7 separate regions of the Homo sapiens genome follow, and all the other regions are linked to region 3. The links are contacts of gene promoters, found by promoter capture Hi-C in blood cells and fetal thymus (Javierre and others, 2016). All regions are on one chromosome and are shown on one strand. The core of a region is centred on a gene start or on the middle of the fragment in contact, and the rest is flanking DNA. Distances in the headings are between cores, read along the strand shown. Region 1 overlaps PPP6R1 (protein phosphatase 6 regulatory subunit 1). Region 2 holds the start of ZNF580 (zinc finger protein 580). Region 3 holds the start of LENG1 (leukocyte receptor cluster member 1). Region 4 holds the start of MIR6805 (microRNA 6805). Region 5 overlaps ZNF524 (zinc finger protein 524). Region 6 holds the start of KMT5C (lysine methyltransferase 5C). Region 7 overlaps ZNF784 (zinc finger protein 784).

Region 1 (2,700 bases), core at 121-2,620, 1.1 Mb after region 3:
TACCTGGGACCAGAATAATCTCAAGGGGCAACCGCCAAATTTATCATGACTCTGCCAATTTCCGGCCTAAGGCTGTGGCGAGCAAAGCACCGAGACGTGGCAAGCACACACACACAGCCTCTTTCTCCGTGGGAGACCAAGCAGGCTGATAGGCTGCCCATGCCATGCCAGCAAAGCCAGTCCCAAGGAACCACACACTGCAGGCCTCCAACTATGTGAAGCATCCAGAACAGGCAAATCCATAGAGACAGAAAAGAGCTTACAGGCTTCCAGGAGCTGGCGGGGATTGGGCGAAGTTCCTGAAAGGAAAGGGTGATTAAAAAAAAGTTCCAAAATCAATTGTGGTGATGTTTCCACAACGTTGTGAATACACTAAGAACCACTGAATTGTACCCTTTATTTATTATTTTTTTTCTTGAGACAGAGTCTCTCTCTGTCACCCAGCCTGGAGTGCAGTGGCGCGATCTCGGCTCACCGCAACCTCCAGCTCCTGGGTTCAAGCATATCTCCTGCCTCAGCCTCCCGAGTAGTGGGGACTACAGGTGCGCACCACCATTCTTGGCTGATTTTTTTTTTTTTTTTTTTTGAGACAGAGTTTCGCTCTGTCACCCAGGCTGGAGTGCAGCGGCGCGATCTCGGCTCACTGCAATCTCCGCCTCCCGGTTTTAAGCAATTCTCCCACCTCAGCCTGAGTACCTGGGATTACAGGAGTGCGCCACCACACCCAGCTAATTTTTGTGTGTGTTTTTTTAGTAAAGACGGGGTTTCACCATATTGGCCAGGCTGGTCTCGAACTACTGACCTTGTGATCCGCCTGCCTGGGCCTCCCAAAGCACTGGGATTACAGGCATGAATCACCACGCCCGGCCTAATTTTTGCATTTTTTTAGTACAGACGGGGTTTCACCACGTTGGCCAGGCTGGTCTTGAATGCCTGACCTCAAGTGATCTGCCTGCCTCGGCCTCCCAAAGTGCTGGGCTTACAGGCGTGAGCCACTGCGCCTGGCTGTACACTCTAAATGGATGAACTGTACAGAATATCTCAATAAAAACTGTTGGGGGAAAAAAAAAAACCTGCCTCAGGCCATCGGCCATGGCAGGGACAGAGCCAGGGCCAGGCTCAGGCCTTGCACTATGTCCCAGCGTCCGCAGAGCTGATGAGATGCCGGCCAGCCTGGCAGAGCTGAAGCTGCCAAGGCTCAGCCCTGGGGCACTCACCCAGGTTACCCCTTCCCCATCCCTCACCACCAACAGCTCTAAGCTAAGTGAGCCCCTCCACAGTGGGGACGGGATAGGAGCAGCACCAAGCCAGCATCTGTAGAAAATCCATGGACCCGCACTTGCAGAGACACTTGTCTCGGCTCCACATCAAGACCAAGTAAAGAATTCTTATTATTCCGACAGAGTCTCATGTGGAAGAGGGGCCCAGAGGGGTGGAGCCACATGGCTAGCAAGAGGCTTCCAGTGTGCCCTGGTCTCTAAACAACAGGCAGAAATTCTCACACTGAGGCCCACCGTTCACTTCTAAGATACCTGATTAAAGGGCACAGGCATGGCCCTCGGCCCCCAAACCCCCTACCCCTGGTACAGACTAACCATCTGCTTCGGGGAAAAGGTCAGGCTTCCCCTCCAAACCGAGCTCCCCAGACAACTGGGGCAGGGGCAGCCAGAATGAGACGGGAGGGTGCTCGCTGGTGCACGGCATCCAAGAACTTCGGCCCTGAGAACCCAGGCAGCGCCCTGAACTCTCCATCTCAAGTGGCTCCTCTGAAAATCAGAATAGACTGAAAGGCTCAAATGCAATTGAGTGGTCGACACTCTACAGACCTCAATTATCAGGCTCTAAACAGAATGAAGATGCAAATATGGAAGAACAGAAAAAAAGAGAAAAAAACTTTCCCCCACCACAACCTCTGAATGCACTATGGCCTGAAGCCCTCTCAGTCCCCTCTCCCAACCTAATGAAGCCTGCTAGAATCCCTGCGAATGGAGCAGGAGAGTGGGTTTCACTCGCACTCTCCTGGTGAACCTGGGCAGGCGCTTGATTTCTCTGAGTCTCATTTCCTCATCCGTGAAAAGGAGACACAGCCCACCAGGGCGGGCTGCTGTGAAAAGGCATTGAGCTAAAGCAGGTGGCCGTGACACAGCAGGAGCTCAGCAGGTGCAAGTCTCTTCCGGTCCAACCCTGAGGCCACGTCCAGATGCTTTCTGGCAGGACAGGTAGGGGACCGGTCACTACCCCAAAGGTGATGGTGCTAAACACAGAGGAGCAGGAGAAAGACTCTACCCATTTGCCTAAGTGACTCAAGTACTTTTCCTCAGACCATTCGGATACTACGGCAGGCGCCATGCACCCCGCCACCCCCATTCTTTGCAACTTTTAGCAACTTCAAGAAAGCGGAAGTGACTACCACTAGTTTTTAGCTACCGTTTGAAAACCATGAGTCTGGCTGCAAACGGAAGAAGGGGAAATTGTAAATGAGAAAGGAAGCCATTAAAAACGAAAACTACCTCTGCCGCTCTCCCTCCACCAGCTCTGCACTATTGCCTCTGGTTTCTGACTTAGCTGTGGTGTTTTAGGGCCTTCAACACCAGCCACCCCTCAAGGGCCTGCCAGCCCCTTCCTTCCCCTGCTTGGACAGGCACTAACTGCGGCTCCCACAGAGCCATCCCCACTGCTGCACGTATCCGCCCAAGCACA
Region 2 (2,700 bases), core at 148-2,647, 1.5 Mb after region 3:
TAAATTTTGATTATGGGAAATTAGTATTTTTTGAGACAGTCTCCCTCTGTTGCCCAGGCTGCAGTATAGTGGCACGATCTTGGCACACTGCAACCTCCACCTCCTGGGTTCAAGCGATTCTCCTGCCTCAGCCTCCCAAGTAGCTGGGACTGTAGGGGAGCACCACTACGGCCGGCTAATTTTTGTACTTTTAGTAGAGAAGGAGTTTCACCATGTTGGCCAGGCTGGTCTCGAACTCCTGACCTCAGGTGATCCGCCCGCCTTGGCCTCCGAAAGTGCTGGGGTTACAGGTGTGAGCCACCGTGCTGATTATGGGAAATGTAATACAATTTAAAATTCAGGTCCTCTGATACACCAGCCACATTTCAAGAGTGTAAGAGTCCCACGTGGCTAGTGACTGTCATAGAACTTTCCACCATTGCAGAAAGTTCTGATGGACAGTGCTCTAGGATGTAGCTGTGGCACCCCAGGGTCTTGGGGCTCGCTGTGACAGTTACTCCTCTTCTGTCCCCCACTCTCAGCTGCACCTGCAGATGCTGCTGCTGCCGCCCTCCTGCGAGGCCGTGGCGCCACGTGGCTGGAGGAGGAGCTGCAGCTGCCCCGAGTGCTGCCGCGTGTGCAGCTCTCCAGTGCGGCTGCAGCGCCACCGCGCGTTGCTTTCGACGCCGGAGTCCTTCGCATGCGCAGCCAGCGCCCGGGCCTCAAGTGCCCCAGGACCTGGCGCAGCCCGCGAGCCCGCATCAGGCTTCCAGTGGGCCCCGTGGGCAGTGCCAGCCTTTCCCACCTCCGCATCTGGCAAAGCCTGGCCTTCGCTGCGCTTCGGTGTCGCCACATGCCTTCTGGAAATATCACACCTCCCCACCTGCGCATGCAGCCGTCTGGCCCTCTGTGGGCCTCGGTTCCCGCATGTGCCCCGTGGAAAGAACATACCTTCCCCAACTATCTGGCAGCGTCTGGCCTTCTCCGGGCCTCGGCCTCCCCATTTGCTGGGTGGAGAATCACGGCCCGGCCACATCGGAGCCAATGGCTGGTCTCTGGACCTCGGTCTCCACATTTGCTCAGCCGGCAGGAACATCCCTTCTCCCGCCCTCTACCTCGGTGGGTGGCCACGGCCGAGCAGGCAGCGACGGCCCAGTGGAAAGAGGACAAACCCTTGTGGGCCTTAGGGCGAAGACGTAACTTTGCTTAGTCTCGGTTTATTGGCCGATCTCTTGTCAAGCGGCGGAATCGTTCCGTTCGGGAGGTGGGAGGGGAGCGGGGCCGCCGGGGGCGGGCGTCTTCAGTGGACCCCACGCCTCCGGTCCCCTCCCCGCAGGGCGCTCCGCAGAGGCGAGGGGTGGGAGCGCCGGCTCCAGGCGGCGGAACCTCCGCACTGGGCTCGCGCGCTTCCGGCCGGCGCCTTTTCCCAGGGACTCCGCCAACCCCTCGCACCCCCGCGCCCCCAGTCCCCGCGTCCCCGGCGCCGCCGGCCCGGAGCTGCCCGGAAGTCTCGGTTCCGCCGCCGGCGCTCGCCAGGGGAAGCCCGGGGCCGCCCGGGACCTCGGCCCGTTCCTCCGGACCCGAGAGGCCGCCGCACGGGGTACGGGGGCCGGGATGGAGGGAGGAGCCTGGCCCTGGGACGACGCCGGGGCCAGGCAGGCTGGGGGAGTGCGCTGGAGCCACCCGGGATGGGGGTGGGGGTCGGGAGCGGCAGGATCGGGCGGAGGGACGGGAGGGGAAGTCGAGGCGCCAGGGCTCCTTGGGGAAGTGAAGGCAATAGGAGGGGCCCCAGGGCCAGGGGACAGGCGGTGTGTAGCGGGATGGGGGCGAAAACGCCCGGGCGCTGGGGTTCCCATAAACAAGGGGAGCAGAGCAAAAGAACGGGCGGGGGACCACGCTGTGTGTAACAGGGAGAGGGATGGGGCTCCTGGAAGAGGTGAACACGAGGAGAAAGAGAGATGCCAGACGTACACAGAAAGGAGGGGAAAGTGGGCTTGGGAGAGGTGCTGTGGGAAGCGGAGTCCCGGAGCCTGGTGTGCATAACGGGGTTTGGGAGAAGGCCCCTGATGGGTACAGAAAGAAGTAACGATGTCACCGCCATATATGGGGGGCGAGAGAAAAGGGGGCCTTTGGGGAGAATGTAGCAGGTAGCCAGGTTGGGGGGGCGGGGTATACAGAAGGAAGGCATTTGAGCCATTTTGGGGTGTATAGATGTAGTAAGACGATGGGTTCCGTAGTGGGGAGAGGTGACTAGACTTCGAGGTGCTAAGTGTAGGAACAGGATGGAAAAGCCCTAGTGAAATGTGGGGAATTGGGTTAGTGGGGCTCTGGGGAGGTACCTAGAGAGGAAGTGAGGGAGGCCACGGAATATGAAGATGGGGAGGCCCTGCGGCATGTAGTGGGGACGGAGGGCCAGGAGGCCGATACGGGGGCCGGTGGGGGGGTAGGGGGCGGCAAAGGGAGGGGAAGTAAACTGAACTGGGGCTGGGCAACAGGAAAAAAGAAGAAACCACAGATTAGAGAAATCTCGGCGGTCAGGAGGCCCGGGGTCTAAGATGTAAAGAGGTAAACAGATTTAGGGATTGATTGTCTGCTGGGGTGGGTTGAGAGGAGAAAAGGGAAGAAAAGTCGGGGGACTACGTCCTCAGACCTGACCTGAGTGGTGAGAGGTGGACCCAGGAGGAGTGGCAGGTGGTGGCGGGGTTTTGCAGAGCTCAGTTG
Region 3 (2,831 bases), core at 6-2,505:
GGAGAAAGTTATAGGCAGGACATTCAGAACCTAGAGGTAATTCAAGAACTGTGAGTCTGGTGCCCACCACAGAAAATGGCAGTCCAGGGTGCTGGGGTTATGAGAAAGGGAGCACTAGGCGCCTAAAAGAGGCACCTGTCCTAGCTGGGGGTGAGGGTAGGCAGATGAGGCAACGCCTGGGTTTTGTAAACTCCCTTTCAAATAGTAAACCACGGGTCATCAAGGATGTATGGGAGGAGGTCCCTGGCCTAAACCAAAGGGGTTCCTAACCTCAAGTGAGACAATTAAAACAGCCATAAAGGTATGCATTAGGCCAGACGATCTGAATTCTAGCCATGGCTCCAAGTGACTACCCCAAGTCTGCTGAAGCCCTGTCCCCTGCCTTCAGGACGCGGATTTCAAACAGCGCTCAGCAGCCTACTGAGATTCTAAAAACCTAGACTACCTCCCACCCACGGCGGAGGATCAGACTAGCTAAGGAAATGAAAGTTGGGTGTACACCAAACAGATTTAAAGAGCCATACGGAAAGCCCGTGTTTGTGTGTATGTGTCTAGGGGGCGGTGCACGAAAGGGCTCGCCCGATGGCGTGGAGCCTGGCTGTCCGCCTCTCCTTAAAATGTGCCTTCCCCTCACTGAAGCCATCTCACTTCGTGCAACAGAGATGACAGTGCCCCTCTAAGAACGAACAGTGCTTATTGGGGATTCCGCAAGTCAGGTGCACGGCATGTAGTTAGCATACAGTAGATGCTCAATAAATAGGCTGTGCAGGCAAACTAAAAAGTGATCCGAATTTCCTTGAACTGTCCAAGGGTTCACGGATTCATTAAATGTTAAGCTTCTCTTTTGTGCTAGACACTGTTCCAGCCATGTGAAATACATCAGTGGGGGAAAAACTAAGACGAGGGCGAGATCAAGGAAGGTTTCGTGGAAGTGGGCACAAGGTTTGCGGGGCAACGTCCTCGAAAGTGGGATCGGCGCCTGGTCCCGAATTTCACACGGGGCACATTGAGCCTGCGCAACGCCTCCGCTTCCGGCCCCCAACCGCGGCGCCTGCGCGCTGGGCCCCGGAGCGCCGCCCTGCCGGCTTCCGAGCTTACCTCTTGCTGAGCCAGCAGCACCCTCCGCTCACGCTCCTTCTCCTCCTCCCGGGCCTGGGCCTCGTCACGCCGCACGCGGGCGACATTGTCCTTGTTCCGGACGTGCCAGCTCTTCTTGGGCAAGATATTCATGGCGTCGTAGCTGTCCAGGGACTGGCACGCCCGCCTCTTTGCACTTCCGATTGGCGAGAGGATGCCCCCCTTTTTCTTGTCCCTACTTCGACCGCGGATTGGTTCCGAATTAGTTGGTACGGCCCCCTGGCCTGTAGCGACAGGTGATTGGCTGAGACGCCCTTTATCACAGCGAATGCTAGGCGTTCGGCTCGTGGTATCCCCTAGCAACCGCCTCTTGTCACAGATCTGAACCAATCATAAGTTGGCCCGCCCCTGATGCTACCAGATGCGGCCGTCGATTGGCCGACATGACCGACAAGTCTCCTTGCGGAAGAGCGCTCTGCACCGACAAACATGCCCGTACATTTGATTGGCTCCTGCCCCGCTGTAGCCCTGCCCCCACCTTCAGGACGCAGATTTCAAAGCGCGCTCAGCAACCTCGGCTGTATTTATTGATACAAGGAAGATCACCCGAGAGTCAGGGACGTGGCGGCGAGGGGCCCTGGAAATCTCCAGATACCAAAGCTGGAAGGGCGTGGAGTCTTCTCCAGTTCTCCTAGTTTACAGATGTTGTGACCTAGGCTTACAATGGGCCTGGGGTCTGAAAGCGGGACGTGGGCTGCGGGGGTCAAAGAGCCGGTTTGGTGGAGGTCAGCGCCACAGCGCGCCGTGCCAGGAAGACTTTATTCTGCGCCTCCTGGGGCAAAGAGAGGTGGAGGTGAGACAATCCTCTTCCCCAACCCCTTTCCATGTTCCCCAGGGGCCCTCTCAGGGACCCGCCTGGCTCACCGTCTCTCTCTGACGTTTGAGCTCAGAGATGAGGCGTCCGTAGGAGTTAGCCAGAGCCACAGTGTACGCCATCAGGATGCTGAAGGAGACAGGAACGGAAGCCACTCCTGACACGCTCTTCCATTATATCCAAACGTCTGGCTCCTTCGAAGCCAGGGATGTGGACGCCTAAGCCCCTCCTCGTCTGGGCTCAAGGAGTTCAGTCTCCCAGCCCCTCCGCCTTCAGATCCAGGAGTCCTACGTCCCGCCCACCTCCTCCTTCGGACCCAGCAGTCCAGGAGCCTAGGCCTCCTCCCTCAGACTCAGTACGTTGCCTGCTCCCACGCCCAAGCCTCTCCTCTCTTGGACGCAGGTGGTGGCCCCCAGATCACACGCATTCAAACCCAGACCCAGAAGTCTGGGCCGTCTCACCTGGAGATCAGCAGAAGGGGCACAGCAAAAGCCTGGGTCCCCAGGAAGAAGAGGAAATTCTGGGTGGTCTCAGGGAGGCTGGAAATAGACTCAGGGATCTGGGCCCAGATGGACGACTGCCCCCGGAATGGACCACACAGCTTAGAAGGCGGGATCCTGAAGTCAAGACAGGCTGGGCTCACATAGTGCCAGGAGTCTGAACACTGAATGGGGAGAGAGGGAGGGAGAGAGGCGGGAGCCTCTCGCACTTACAGGAAGATGCTGTAAAGCAGGGGAACGCTGGAGATGGCCAGACCCAGGAGAAGGACCAAGGGGAAAAAGAAATTCGCCGCGGAGGCCCGGAAGGTGCGGGCAGCCGGGGAGCAGGTGGAGAAGAGGGTAAGCTGGTGGGGGAAGGCACGGAGAAAAGGGCTCTGAAA
Region 4 (2,864 bases), core at 164-2,663, 1.2 Mb after region 3:
TTGTCAGCTCTGTGAGCCGCGCGCGTCTGAGCCCGTGTCCTCACCTGTAAAGTGGAGAAATGAAAAAGGACCTGAACTTCCTCGGTGGTTGTTGAGAGTTAAGGCACGGGGTTGATGTTTTCAGATGAAATTCTCAAAGCAAGTCAGGGTGGGGATGGATGGTTTCATCCCACAGGTGGGAAGATTGAGGCACAACAGGGGAGGGGCCCTCGCTACCACACTTAGGAGGGGACAGGCTGGGTTGGTTGCAGCCATTTGATTCCCATTTTGCCTGTGTAGGTTAGAGAAGAGGTCTTGGGGACCCCACTCCATACATTGTGCTGTCAGGTGCAGGCCTTTTTGGGGATTCCCTGAATGTTCGTGTGAGTCGGGGGTCTCTAATGGAGGAGTCCAGCTTCACATGTGTTCTTGACAGGGCTGTATTTTCTTTTTAGAGTGAGTTTTTCTCAGGTCCTTGATTGGAACTGCCTCAGAGCCAAGGGTCCTTTTACTCAGTGGCAGCAACAAACGCAGTCTGTTGGCTAGTGATCCTCCTGTCTCAGGGACACGTAGTCCAGGGAGCAGCCAATTGCTTGGCACTTGGGGACCCCGTTCTGGGGAGTCCTGAAAGCTTTCACCTCTTGGATTGCCGAATACATGGGTGGCCCTTCCTAGACTAAGGGACTGGCCTGAGTGAGGCTGGGCCTCTCAGCCAAGCTGATGTTGAACCACTGCTGTGGGGATGGGCCTGGGGTTCCTGGGAAGCTGTTCATACCCATTGCCAGGAGCGTGGGCTCTGGCTGGACCTGGATCAGATCCTAACTGAAGCGGCAGCTTTCTGGCATGAGAAAGGAGTGTTTTCATGGTGGACAGAATTGGGCTATGAGTGTGGCAGAAGCTGTGTCCTCAGTACTCCGTGATGACGAGTGAGCCTCTGTGAAATGGACAGGTGGGAAAACAGCTACCTGCTGGCCTGCCCAGGCACCCGCCACGGGCCCACGCTGCTCAGCTTCTCAATGTGAGACTGTCCACACCTGCGAGGTGTGCTAAAGGTGCAGGTTAGGTGGACTGACCCCAGGACCTCCCTGACCCCCAACCAGGCCAGCGGAAGCCTGCCACCTCCTATGTGCGGACCACCATCAACAAGAATGCTCGCGCCACGCTCAGCAGCATCAGACACATGATCCGCAAGAACAAGTACCGCCCCGACCTGCGCATGGTGAGCTGGGGTTTGGGGATCAGGCTTGGGGAGACTGGCCAGTGCTGTGGGGAAGGGCCTCCCACTACTGGTTGCAATATGGGCTGGAGAGGGATGGATTCTTGCTTTCAGCCTACTCCCCACACCCAGCATTGGCCTAGGGGGCGGCTTGTGGAGTGTATGGGCTGAGCCTTGCTCTGCTCCCCCGCCCCCAGGCAGCCATCCGCAGGGCCAGCGCCATCCTGCGCAGCCAGAAGCCTGTGATGGTGAAGAGGAAGCGGACCCGCCCCACCAAGAGCTCCTGAGCCCCCTGCCCCCAGAGCAATAAAGTCAGCTGGCTTTCTCACCTGCCTCGACTGGGCCTCCCTTTTTGAAACGCTCTGGGGAGCTCTGGCCCTGTGTGTTGTCATTCAGGCCATGTCATCAAAACTCTGCATGTCACCTTGTCCATCTGGAGGTGATGTCAATGGCTGGCCATGCAGGAGGGGTGGGGTAGCTGCCTTGTCCCTGGTGAGGGCAAGGGTCACTGTCTTCACAGAAAAAGTTTGCTGACTTGTGATTGAGACCTACTGTCCCATTGTGAGGTGGCCTGAAGAATCCCAGCTGGGGCAGTGGCTTCCATTCAGAAGAAGAAAGGCCTTTTCTAGCCCAGAAGGGTGCAGGCTGAGGGCTGGGCCCTGGGCCCTGGTGCTGTAGCACGGTTTGGGGACTTGGGGTGTTCCCAAGACCTGGGGGACGACAGACATCACGGGAGGAAGATGAGATGACTTTTGCATCCAGGGAGTGGGTGCAGCCACATTTGGAGGGGATGGGCTTTACTTGATGCAACCTCATCTCTGAGATGGGCAACTTGGTGGGTGGTGGCTTATAACTGTAAGGGAGATGGCAGCCCCAGGGTACAGCCAGCAGGCATTGAGCAGCCTTAGCATTGTCCCCCTACTCCCGTCCTCCAGGTGTCCCCATCCCTCCCCTGTCTCTTTGAGCTGGCTCTTGTCACTTAGGTCTCATCTCAGTGGCCGCTCCTGGGCCACCCTGTCACCCAAGCTTTCCTGATTGCCCAGCCCTCTTGTTTCCTTTGGCCTGTTTGCTCCCTAGTGTTTATTACAGCTTGTGAGGCCAGGAGTTTGAGACCATCCTAGGCAACATAATGAGACACCGTCTCTAAAATAAAATTAGCTGGGTGTGGTGGTGCACCGCCTGTGGTCCCAGCTCCTCAGAGGTTGAGTAGAGGCTGAGGTGAGCGGAGCACTTGAGCCAAGAGTATGAGGCTGCAGTGAGCCCATGAGCCCCACCACTACACTCCAGCCTGGAAGACACCATGACACACAGTGAGGCCTGGATGGGGAAAGAGTCCTGCTGTTGATCCTCACATGTTTCCTGGGCACCTAACTCTGTCAGCCACTGCCAGGGACCAAGGATCCAGCATCCATGGCACCCCTGGTTCCTGCCATCCTGGGGTACCCGATTCAAAGAAGGACTCTGCTCCCTGTCTGAGACCACCCCCGGCTCTGACTGAGAGTAAGGGGACTGTCAGGGCCTCGACTTGCCATTGGTTGGGGTCGTACGGGGCTGGGAGCCCTGCGTTTTGAGGCAGACCACTGCCCTTCCGACCTCAGTCCTGTCTGCTCCAGTCTTGCCCAGCTCGAAGGAGAGCAGATCTGACCACTTGCCAGCCCCTGTCTGCTGT
Region 5 (2,700 bases), core at 140-2,639, 1.4 Mb after region 3:
ATGGGCTCTCCGTTTCAAGGATCACAATACTGGTCTGCACTCTCAGTTGGACTCTATCCTCTCTGGAAGGTTTTTTTTTGTGGGGAGGTGGGGAGGGGTGTTGCTCATGTTGATCTTGAACTTCTAGATCCAGAAGGAGAGTTAGGGAGGCATAGGGATGTCTGGTGGAGCTCAGGGAAGTGCCTGTTTATCAGCTGATACAAGATCATCTCACTGTTTTACCCACCAGCATAGCTAAAATTGTGTATCTGGATGAATGTCAAACACACCTTTGTCAAGAGACTTGGAGAGAGGGATGGGCGAGGTGTTGGGGGACACAGGGGTGCTCTAGACCCTGTGAGCACTGACTCTGCCCCTCTCTCCTCTTAGCTGGCTCCAGTGCCCAGACCCAAGCCCCCCACTGCTCAATGGACACCCCCAGCCCAGACCCGTTGCCTTCGCCTTTGCCCGGGGAGGAAGAGAAACCTCTGGCCTTATCTCCTCCTGTTCCCCGGGGCCGCCGAGGCCGTCGTCCTGGGGGAGCCACCTCCTCAAATCGGACACTCAAGGCCTCCCTCCCTCGCAAGCGGGGCCGCCCCCCCAAGTCAGGGCAGGAGCCCCCACTGGTGCAGGTGCAGGGGGTGACAGCCCCAGTAGGCAGCAGTGGCGGGAGCGACCTCCTCCTGATCGATGATCAGGGTGTGCCCTATACGGTCTCTGAAGGTTCAGCGGCTGGGCCTGAGGGCTCTGGCCCCAGGAAGGCCCCACACTTCTGCCCGGTGTGCCTGCGGGCCTTCCCCTACCTCTCCGACCTGGAGCGCCACAGCATCTCGCACTCAGAGCTGAAGCCGCACCAGTGCAAGGTTTGCGGCAAGACCTTCAAGCGCTCCAGCCACCTGCGGCGGCACTGCAACATCCATGCCGGCCTGCGGCCCTTCCGCTGCCCGCTGTGCCCCCGCCGCTTCCGCGAGGCGGGCGAGCTGGCGCACCACCACCGCGTGCACTCGGGGGAGCGCCCGTACCAGTGCCCCATCTGCCGGCTGCGCTTTACAGAGGCCAACACGCTCCGGCGCCATGCGAAGCGCAAGCACCCGGAGGCCATGGGGGTACCCCTGTGTGCACCAGATCCAGGGTCTGAACCGCCGTGGGACGAGGAGGGCATCCCGGCCACAGCAGGGGCCGAGGAGGAGGAGGAGACAGAGGGGAAAGGGGAGCCGGCCTGACCCACACCCCCGGCCATCGCTCCCTGGGCCAGGTTTAGAGCAGGGAGTTTGGCTGGTGCTGGGCCTGAGCCAGGGGGCCGGGACACCCTTGTTTCCGGTGGTCTTCCCGTTGTGGGAGCAGGTGGAGGGTGGAGACCTAAACTTTGGGGTCCAGCTGCCTTCAGCCCCCCTCCCCCAGACTAACAGACCCTTGGAGGCAGGGGCTGTGGAAATAAATCTCTGCCTGCTGGCTGCCTGTGTGTGTTCCGTGCCGGGATGCCATCCTCTCCTGCCTTCAAATGTTCTTCCTCGGCTACACCGTCCTGTCGGGAGTGCGGGGAATTGGAGAGGACCCCACTTCCTGTGCCTCATGAGCGTGGTGCTCGCCAAAGAATGGTTTTGGGGGGAACCTTGGCCCCTTCCCCATCTCCATCAGACCCCAAAGTCCATGGGTCCCTCGGAGTCCGCGGGGAATTGGTTCCACGAACCTCGCAGATACCAAGATCTGGGCATACACAAGTCCAGCAGTGGGCCCTGCGGAACCCGCGGATGTAGGAAAATCCGCCCTTCGTATACTGTATGTTCCACCGGTGTTTGGGTGAAAAAACGTCCGCCTCTCAATGGACCTGCAGTTCAAACCCCTGTTGTTCAAGGGTCAGCTGTATTCCCAGTACACATCCAATCTAACTAAAAACATTGAACCTTCCATGCAGACCTGACTGTAGGTCCGACCGCCTCTCTCCTAGCCAATTCCCAGAAATTCTGCAGCCACTTTGCCCCACCTCCTTGTCCTGAGGACCTACTGTTTGGAAGGAAAAATTAAGACAAAGGTATGAGCAGGACGGTCTGGGTAAGGTTTAGAGATAAGGGGTGTGGATTGGGGCGGGGCTAAGGAGCGAGGGGTGGGGCTGAGATTGCGGGGCAGTTAGGCTGGGACCTGGGGCGGGGGCTTAGAAGAGGGTTAGAGTTGGGTGGGGCTTAAAGAGGTTTAGGGGTTGGTCCGCAGAAAGTGAGAGCGGTTTAAAGAGGATGGATAGAGTTGATCTAATAGAGAGTAGGGGCTTGGAGCTGGGGAAGAACAGGAGGAACTGCGTGAGAGTGGGGCAAGGAGGACGGATAATTTTTTTTTTGAGACAGGGTCTCGCTCTGTCATCCAGGCTGGAGTGCAGTGGCCCTATCACCGCTCACTGCAGCCTCGACCTGCCAGGCTCAAGCGACCCTCCTGCTTCAGCCTCCGGAGTAGCTGAGACTACAGACGGGCGCCAGCATATTTAGCTAATTTTTTTTTTTTGAGACGGAGTCTTGCTGTCGTCCAGGCTGGAGTGCAGTGGGGCAATCTGGCTCACTGCAACCTCTGCCTCCCGGGTTCAAGCAGTTCTCTCCCTCAGCCTCCCGAGTAGCTGGAATTACAGGCGCCCGCCACCACGCCTGGCTAATTTTTGTAATTTTAGTAGAGACGGGGTTTCACCATCTTGGCCAGGCTGGTCTTGACCTCCTGACCTCGTGATCCACCCGCCTC
Region 6 (2,732 bases), core at 188-2,687, 1.2 Mb after region 3:
CAGTGAGCCGAGATCACTCCACTGCACTCTAGCCTGGGCGAGAGAGCGATACTCTGTCTCTGTCTCTCTCTCTCTCTCTCTCTCTCTCTCTCTCTCTCTCTCTCTCTCTCTCTCACACACACACACACACACACACACACACACACCAAAACACCAAAAACAGCACACCAAAACAGCACCTACTCTGTGGCATGCATTGTTTTAAGTGCCCACGATCTATAGCTGTACAGTGGAGCGCATGTCTGACAGTGATCCTATATGTGTAGACACACAAGCGCCTACATTGTGTTACCGGACAGTAACATGCTGCACAGCTGTGTGGCCCAGGAGCCGCCGGCCACCTTACAGCCCAGGTGCCAGCAGCCCTGCCACGTAGGTGTGAGTGATGTTGCTCTAGGATGCTGGCAGGATGACGACATCGCCTGAGCACGCACTGCCCAGATGGTATCAGTGTCGTTAAGGGAAGAATGGCTGTGGCGAAACAAACAAACAAGCAAACAAAGACCGCCTGTTCTGAGTGTGGAGCTTATTATTCTCGGCGTAATTATGATGAATTGTTAGTTACGTTTGCCTCTAGGATTGAGGTAGGGGGGGTGATCCCAATTAGGGGGTGCCCCAGGGGAGCGCCCCAGGAGTCAGGGCTTGTCTCAAAAGTCCCCACTCCTCCCTCAGCCTCCCCTCCCTCCATCCGACCCCGTTCATATCGCGGGAAGGTCCCACAGAGTGCGTGTGGATACTCCCAAAACGCAACGGTGTAAACGGGGAGGGAGGGAGAGAGACTGAGGAGCCCTTTGTAGCCAGGCAGAGCTGTCAATAAAGTTTCGTCGCCTTGGTAACCGCAGGCCTCGCGGGGCGGGAGGGGAGAGGGATGGCGGTGCGCGCGCATTCACCGCCTCCCTCCCGCCGGGTCTGGCTTTCTCCCTCCTGTGGCCGAAGCTTTCCTCGGAGAAATAGAAGAGGGAGGCCGCGACTCTATGGTGATGGACGGAGGCCTTACCCAATGGAAAGAGGAGCTGTCCCAAGGCCAGGCAATCATATACGACTACTGGAGCTGGCAGAGCCCGCCCTCTTTCCACTTGGACCTGAATAACCCGACCCAAACCGAGTTTCGCCCGGAGAGACTGCGCTTTCGGCCAATGAGTGCGTCGATTTCGAGCCCCAGTGTGAGCGAAGGCGGGACAAGTCTCCATGGCAGCGACTAAAGGACAGCGATGTGAACCACTGACAACAGTTCGCGGCGTTTGACGGCGGCGGGGGCGTGGCGGGGTTTTATCTGTGTATTGACGAGAGCCGGGCGCGGAGGGAAAGAGTGGGGCTTGGCCAATGGGAGCGCCGTGAGCTTCGTAGCAACGGAGGAGTGGCGGTGGCTGTGGCCAATAGAAAGCCTCAGTGGCCTTGGCGGGGCTGGCCCGGAGAGCAGATGGGAGGTGCGGCGACAGTGTTTGACGAGAGCCGAAGGAGGCTGTGGGAGGTGTTGGCGGCGGCGGCGCGGGCGCCTGAGGAGGAGGAGGAGAAGCGGGTGAGGGGCGGCGCGGGGCCCGATCTCTGAGCCCCTTCACGGCCCCAGCCCCGCGCCGCCTTGGCTCCCCAGTCGCCCCCTGCCCCGACTGCCCCCCACCCCGCCCGGCCCCTCCTCGTGTCCAGGCGCCCACGTCTCCCGGCCCCTCGCCGGGCCTCGGGCTCCGCGGCACTGCAGCCTCCTTCCTGTGCTTCCTCACCCGGGCCCTGACCCCCTTCTTACGTCCACGGCCCTCCCTGCATCCTCAGGGCCTCTCCCTGACCTCTTGTCACTCTCCAGGCCTCTCCCTGCACCCCCCAGGGCCTTTCCCTGACCTCACCCTCCAGGCCTCTCCCTGCACCCCCAGGTCTCTCCCTGCACCCTCAGGGCCTCTCCCTGACCCTTCTCTCACCCCCGGGACCTCCCTGCACTCCCAGGGCCAATCCCCGACCTCCTCTCACCCTCCAGGCCTCCTTCTGGACCCTCTAGGTCTTTCTGTGCCCTAGAACCTCTCCCTGACCCCTCTGTCCCTCTCCTGGCACTCCCTGGACCCTGAGGTCGGCCTCTGACCCTCCAGGTCCCTTGCCCTGGGCTCTCACCGCCTACCCAGGCGCCTCCCTGGGTCCCCAGGCCCTTCCCTAGGGTCTCCCTTTCCTGGATCCCCCAGGACCCCACCAAGCCCGTTTGGATCCCTGGGCCCCTGTCCGCCCTCTCAGGCCCTTCACTCACTGGACACCCAGGATCTTCTCCGCCATCCCTGGACCGCCCCCCGACCCAGGTCTCCCGTCTGGCTCCTCCCTGAGTCCCTAGGCCATTCCCCGCTCTCTGTCCTCCCTGGCACCCCCATCCCTTCCTCACACCCCTCTGAGCGCCCCCAGGCCCGGCTGCAGCCTTCTCCCTCCCACAGCCCCCTGCCGTGCCCACCGCTGTGCGTTTCTCTCCTTGCCCCCAGCCCCCTCTCCAGCTTCCCCGCTGTCCCTGGCGTCCTCCTGCAGCGCCCCCTCTTTCTCTCCCGCAGCCTCGCAGTCTGTCCCCGACCCCTCCACAGCCGTCTCTGCAGCTCCCGCTCCTTGCCCTGCCCCATCTCCTCCTCTCCTGGGCGCGGATGAGCCTCGAGCGCCGTGGTGCGGGGACGAGGCTGGCCCTCCGTCCGGGTTAGGGGTTTGGGTGGTTTTCTTCATCTCTCCGTTCTCTCCTGGCTCCGCTTTAAAAAAATGTTTTTGTAAATATTGAC
Region 7 (2,700 bases), core at 167-2,666, 1.5 Mb after region 3:
TTATCTCATGGGGCCCACTGGGTGAACAGAAAGGTGTGCAAATCAGAGGCTCTCACTCAACAAGCATGCAAAGCATGTTGAGTGTGCTTTTGCCAAACTTCCCTGACCCCCCTCTCCTACAGCTGAACCACATAACACGTAACCACAGTGGGGCCTACTCACCCCCCATTCTGATGATGGGGAAACAGAAGCTTGGAGGAAGAGATGATGCAACTGACTGCTGGTGGCAAAACCATGGTGAGGCCCCTCCTCCCCCAACTCCCCAAAGCGGACAATCCGAATACAAGACCGACAGAGAAGCCCTTCAGAAGGTCCTTTAATAGGAACAGAACTGAAGGTGTCACACCTCCAGCTCCCAAGTCCTCCTCTCGCCCCCACCACAGTGACTCTTTCACTCCACACCCAGGCCAGCCCACCATGCTGCCATCAGCCAGCCCGCCCTTGGGATTGGCGGGGACTAGGCAGTAAGCTGTTTGCTTCGAACTGGGAGTGGAGGAAATTAGAGAAACCTGAGGCTACCTTGAGGCTTGTGGGGGACCCTGGGCTCTGAGTCTAAAGCTTTAGGAGGGGGATGCTAGGTAGCTGCTTGCTTTATGTGTTCTCAGTTGCCTCCGAAGAAGAGTGGATGGGTTAAGGACGGACCACAATGGGGGTGGGGGTTGCCGCTGTTGGAGTCAAGATCCTATGGTCAGGCTTACATCCTTGAGGCTCAAGTGCTCTCAGCGGTGACTTGGGGACCCTCTGGCTTTGAGGTGATGGGATCCCAGAGTCTCTTCACAGATAACCTGGTGAGTGTCTTCTGCCAGAGGGTGGATAGGCATCCCAGGTCCAGTGCAATGCAGTGAGGTAGGCAGGAGACTCCATCCTGGTCCACCCGTGGAGGACCAGAGCAGAAGACTATGGTGGACCCCAATTCCCCCCTTCCATTCGATCCTGGCTCCTCCTCTGAAGTGCCCAGGCTCTGTCGTGACAGGCTGGGTCTTGCACAAGGACAAGCCAACCAAGAGACAGTCGGGGAAGTGACATCCAGCCCGTGGGCCTTGCCTTTGGCCGCACACCCGCAGAGCTGCAAGAGCTGCACCTGTCCTCTCCTAGGCCTGGCAGAGGTGCTGTGTGGGCGTGTGGGAGTCTGGAGCCTGGCCCTCTCCCTCTGCTCTCCATCACTAGCGGCTCACAACCATCCCTGCAGCTGTCATCTCTCCCCCAATCTCCCCTCTTCTGTCCCCTGCCTCCGTTTCCCCACCCCGTCCCCCTCCCCGGGTCGGCCTCGTACCTCCGCCTTAACTAACCCATGTCCCTGGTCTGCAGCCTACTGGTCGGCCTCCACCTTCACCTTCGCGGTCTCCCCCCGCCCCTCCTCCGCAGGGTCCCCTACCCCACACCCGCTCCCCGACCCCTCAGCCGCCGACGAGCCCAGCTGGCCTCCAGAGTCTCCCAGCCCCGGCCCCGGCCCGTGGAAGTGGGTGCGCTGGTGCTTGCGGAAGTTGGAGGAGTTGTTGAAGGTGCGGTCGCAGAGCGTGCAGCGGAACGGGCGCTCGCCAGTGTGGATGCGGGCGTGGCCGCTAAGCACCGAGGACTGGGTGAAGCCCTTGCCGCAGATGCCGCAATGGTATGGCCGCTCGCCAGTGTGCACGCGCTCGTGGTCTCGCATGTCTGAGGAGCGGCGGAAGGGCTTGGCGCAGAACCTGCAGGCAAAAGGCTTCCCCACCGCTGCGCCCGCCGCCGCCGCCGCCATCACCACCTCCGCCCTCTCCGGGGCCACCCCGGGCCTCTGTTCTGCAACGGCCGCTGTGTCCGGAGGCCTCCGAGAGGTGCCCGGCTCCACCCCGTGCCGGTGCTGGTGCCGGAGCAGGGGCGCCAAGGCCTTGAAGGCGCGGGGGCAGAGCGCGCAGCGGTAGGGCCGCTCCCCCGTGTGCAAGCTGTAGTGCGCGCGCAGGCTGGCGGGGCCCGGGCAGCTGTGGCCGCACACGTGGCACCGGCTCGGGTCCCCACCCTGCCCGCCTCCCTCGGCCCCAGCCAAGTGGCCATGTTCGTGGAACAGCAGCTCGGAAACCAGCCGGAAGGCAGCAGGGCACAAGGCACAGTGGAAAGAACCTGGCTCCGGGGGCTCAGGGACCAGCGTGGTGTCCGTCACCTTCACCACCTGGATCTCGATGAGGTCACTCGGGGGTGTGCCAGGCCGGCAGTCATCAGGCACCAGGACCTGGGCAAGAGGAGAAGAAAGAGGAGCCTGTGGAACCTGCCTCAGGACCGCCCCAGCACGCCCCAATTATTAAAGCTTGGGCTCCTCTGTTATTTTCAGACAGGGCCTCACTCTGTTGCCCTGGCGCGATCGTGGCTCATTGCAACCTTGACCTCCTGGGCTCAAGCGATCCTCCCACTTCATCTCCCTGAGTAGCTGGGATTACAGGCATGCACCACCACATCCAGCTAGTTAAAAAAAAATTATTTCTGGCTGGGCACGGTGGCTCAGGCCTGTAATACCAGCACATTGGGAGGCTGAGGTAGGCAGATCACCTGAGGTCAGGAGTTCGAAACCAGCCTGGCCAACATGGCAAATACCGTTTCTACTAAAAATGCAAAAATTAGCCAGGTGTTGTGGCTGCTGCCTGTAATCCCAGCTACTCGGGAGACTAAGACACGAGAATCGCTTGAACCCAGGAGGTGGAGGTTGCAGTGAGATGTGATCATGCCACTGCC

Evidence for each region. Contacts are between HindIII fragments. The CHiCAGO score rates a contact against its expected background, and 5 or more counts as called.
Region 1: a contact is called between a fragment that was not itself captured here and the fragment with the promoter of LENG1 in region 3, in 1 of 17 cell types (fetal thymus). The highest score is 6.8, in fetal thymus.
Region 2: the fragment with the promoter of ZNF580 here is called in contact with the fragment with the promoter of LENG1 in region 3 in 5 of 17 cell types (activated CD4 T cells, non-activated CD4 T cells, fetal thymus and 2 more); the score reaches 12.5 in activated CD4 T cells.
Region 4: a contact is called between a fragment that was not itself captured here and the fragment with the promoter of LENG1 in region 3, in 1 of 17 cell types (fetal thymus). The highest score is 5.8, in fetal thymus.
Region 5: a fragment that was not itself captured here is called in contact with the fragment with the promoter of LENG1 in region 3 in 7 of 17 cell types (activated CD4 T cells, non-activated CD4 T cells, naive CD4 T cells and 4 more); the score reaches 10.4 in activated CD4 T cells.
Region 6: a contact is called between the fragment with the promoter of KMT5C here and the fragment with the promoter of LENG1 in region 3, in 10 of 17 cell types (fetal thymus, naive CD4 T cells, activated CD4 T cells and 7 more). The highest score is 17.3, in fetal thymus.
Region 7: a fragment that was not itself captured here is called in contact with the fragment with the promoter of LENG1 in region 3 in 1 of 17 cell types (fetal thymus); the score reaches 5.1 in fetal thymus.

Annotation. Positions count from the first base shown.
Region 1 is chr19:55,251,831-55,254,530 of GRCh38, forward strand. The region is part of intron 1 of PPP6R1 (protein phosphatase 6 regulatory subunit 1); the gene reads right to left. Among named protein-coding and RNA genes, the nearest start is that of PPP6R1, 5.8 kb to the right of the region's middle. RefSeq lists enhancers at 1,788-1,867, 2,098-2,317, 2,328-2,437. The HindIII fragment of the contact is 4,391 bases long and covers 1-2,700 here.
Region 2 is chr19:55,639,605-55,642,304 of GRCh38, forward strand. ZNF580 (zinc finger protein 580) reads left to right here and starts at 1,398. Exons shown (of 2, transcript NM_207115.2): 1 at 1,398-1,579. LOC107983998 (a long non-coding RNA gene) reads left to right here. Exons shown (of 2, transcript NR_171683.1): 2 at 522-1,195. It also overlaps a transcript of ZNF581 not described here. RefSeq lists a silencer at 1,248-1,767. The HindIII fragment of the contact is 9,119 bases long and covers 1-2,700 here.
Region 3 is chr19:54,158,466-54,161,296 of GRCh38, forward strand. It overlaps LENG1 (leukocyte receptor cluster member 1), which reads right to left and starts at 1,256. Exons shown (of 4, transcript NM_024316.3): 1 at 1,099-1,256. The coding sequence starts at 1,230. TMC4 (transmembrane channel like 4) reads right to left here. Exons shown (of 15, transcript NM_144686.4): 12 at 2,665-2,795; 13 at 2,413-2,568; 14 at 2,002-2,080; 15 at 1,643-1,909. The coding sequence ends at 1,841. RefSeq lists an enhancer at 589-1,258. The HindIII fragment of the contact is 1,716 bases long and covers 835-2,550 here.
Region 4 is chr19:55,386,851-55,389,714 of GRCh38, forward strand. It overlaps RPL28 (ribosomal protein L28), which reads left to right. Exons shown (of 5, transcript NM_000991.5): 4 at 1,080-1,198; 5 at 1,393-2,864. The coding sequence ends at 1,482. It overlaps MIR6805 (microRNA 6805), which reads left to right and starts at 1,331; the gene lies at 1,331-1,392. The HindIII fragment of the contact is 1,611 bases long and covers 609-2,219 here.
Region 5 is chr19:55,601,706-55,604,405 of GRCh38, forward strand. ZNF524 (zinc finger protein 524) reads left to right here. Exons shown (of 2, transcript NM_153219.4): 2 at 370-1,433. The coding sequence starts at 408. The coding sequence ends at 1,202. Among named protein-coding and RNA genes, the nearest start is that of ZNF865, 2.6 kb to the right of the region's middle. RefSeq lists enhancers at 910-1,460, 2,564-2,700. The HindIII fragment of the contact is 3,453 bases long and covers 1-2,700 here.
Region 6 is chr19:55,338,439-55,341,170 of GRCh38, forward strand. KMT5C (lysine methyltransferase 5C) reads left to right here and starts at 1,438. Exons shown (of 9, transcript NM_032701.4): 1 at 1,438-1,519. RefSeq lists enhancers at 1-356, 357-1,130, 1,440-1,509 and a silencer at 1,530-1,589. The HindIII fragment of the contact is 2,060 bases long and covers 935-2,732 here.
Region 7 is chr19:55,620,442-55,623,141 of GRCh38, forward strand. ZNF784 (zinc finger protein 784) reads right to left here. Exons shown (of 2, transcript NM_203374.2): 2 at 300-2,203. The coding sequence ends at 1,310. Among named protein-coding and RNA genes, the nearest start is that of ZNF784, 2.8 kb to the right of the region's middle. The HindIII fragment of the contact is 1,720 bases long and covers 557-2,276 here.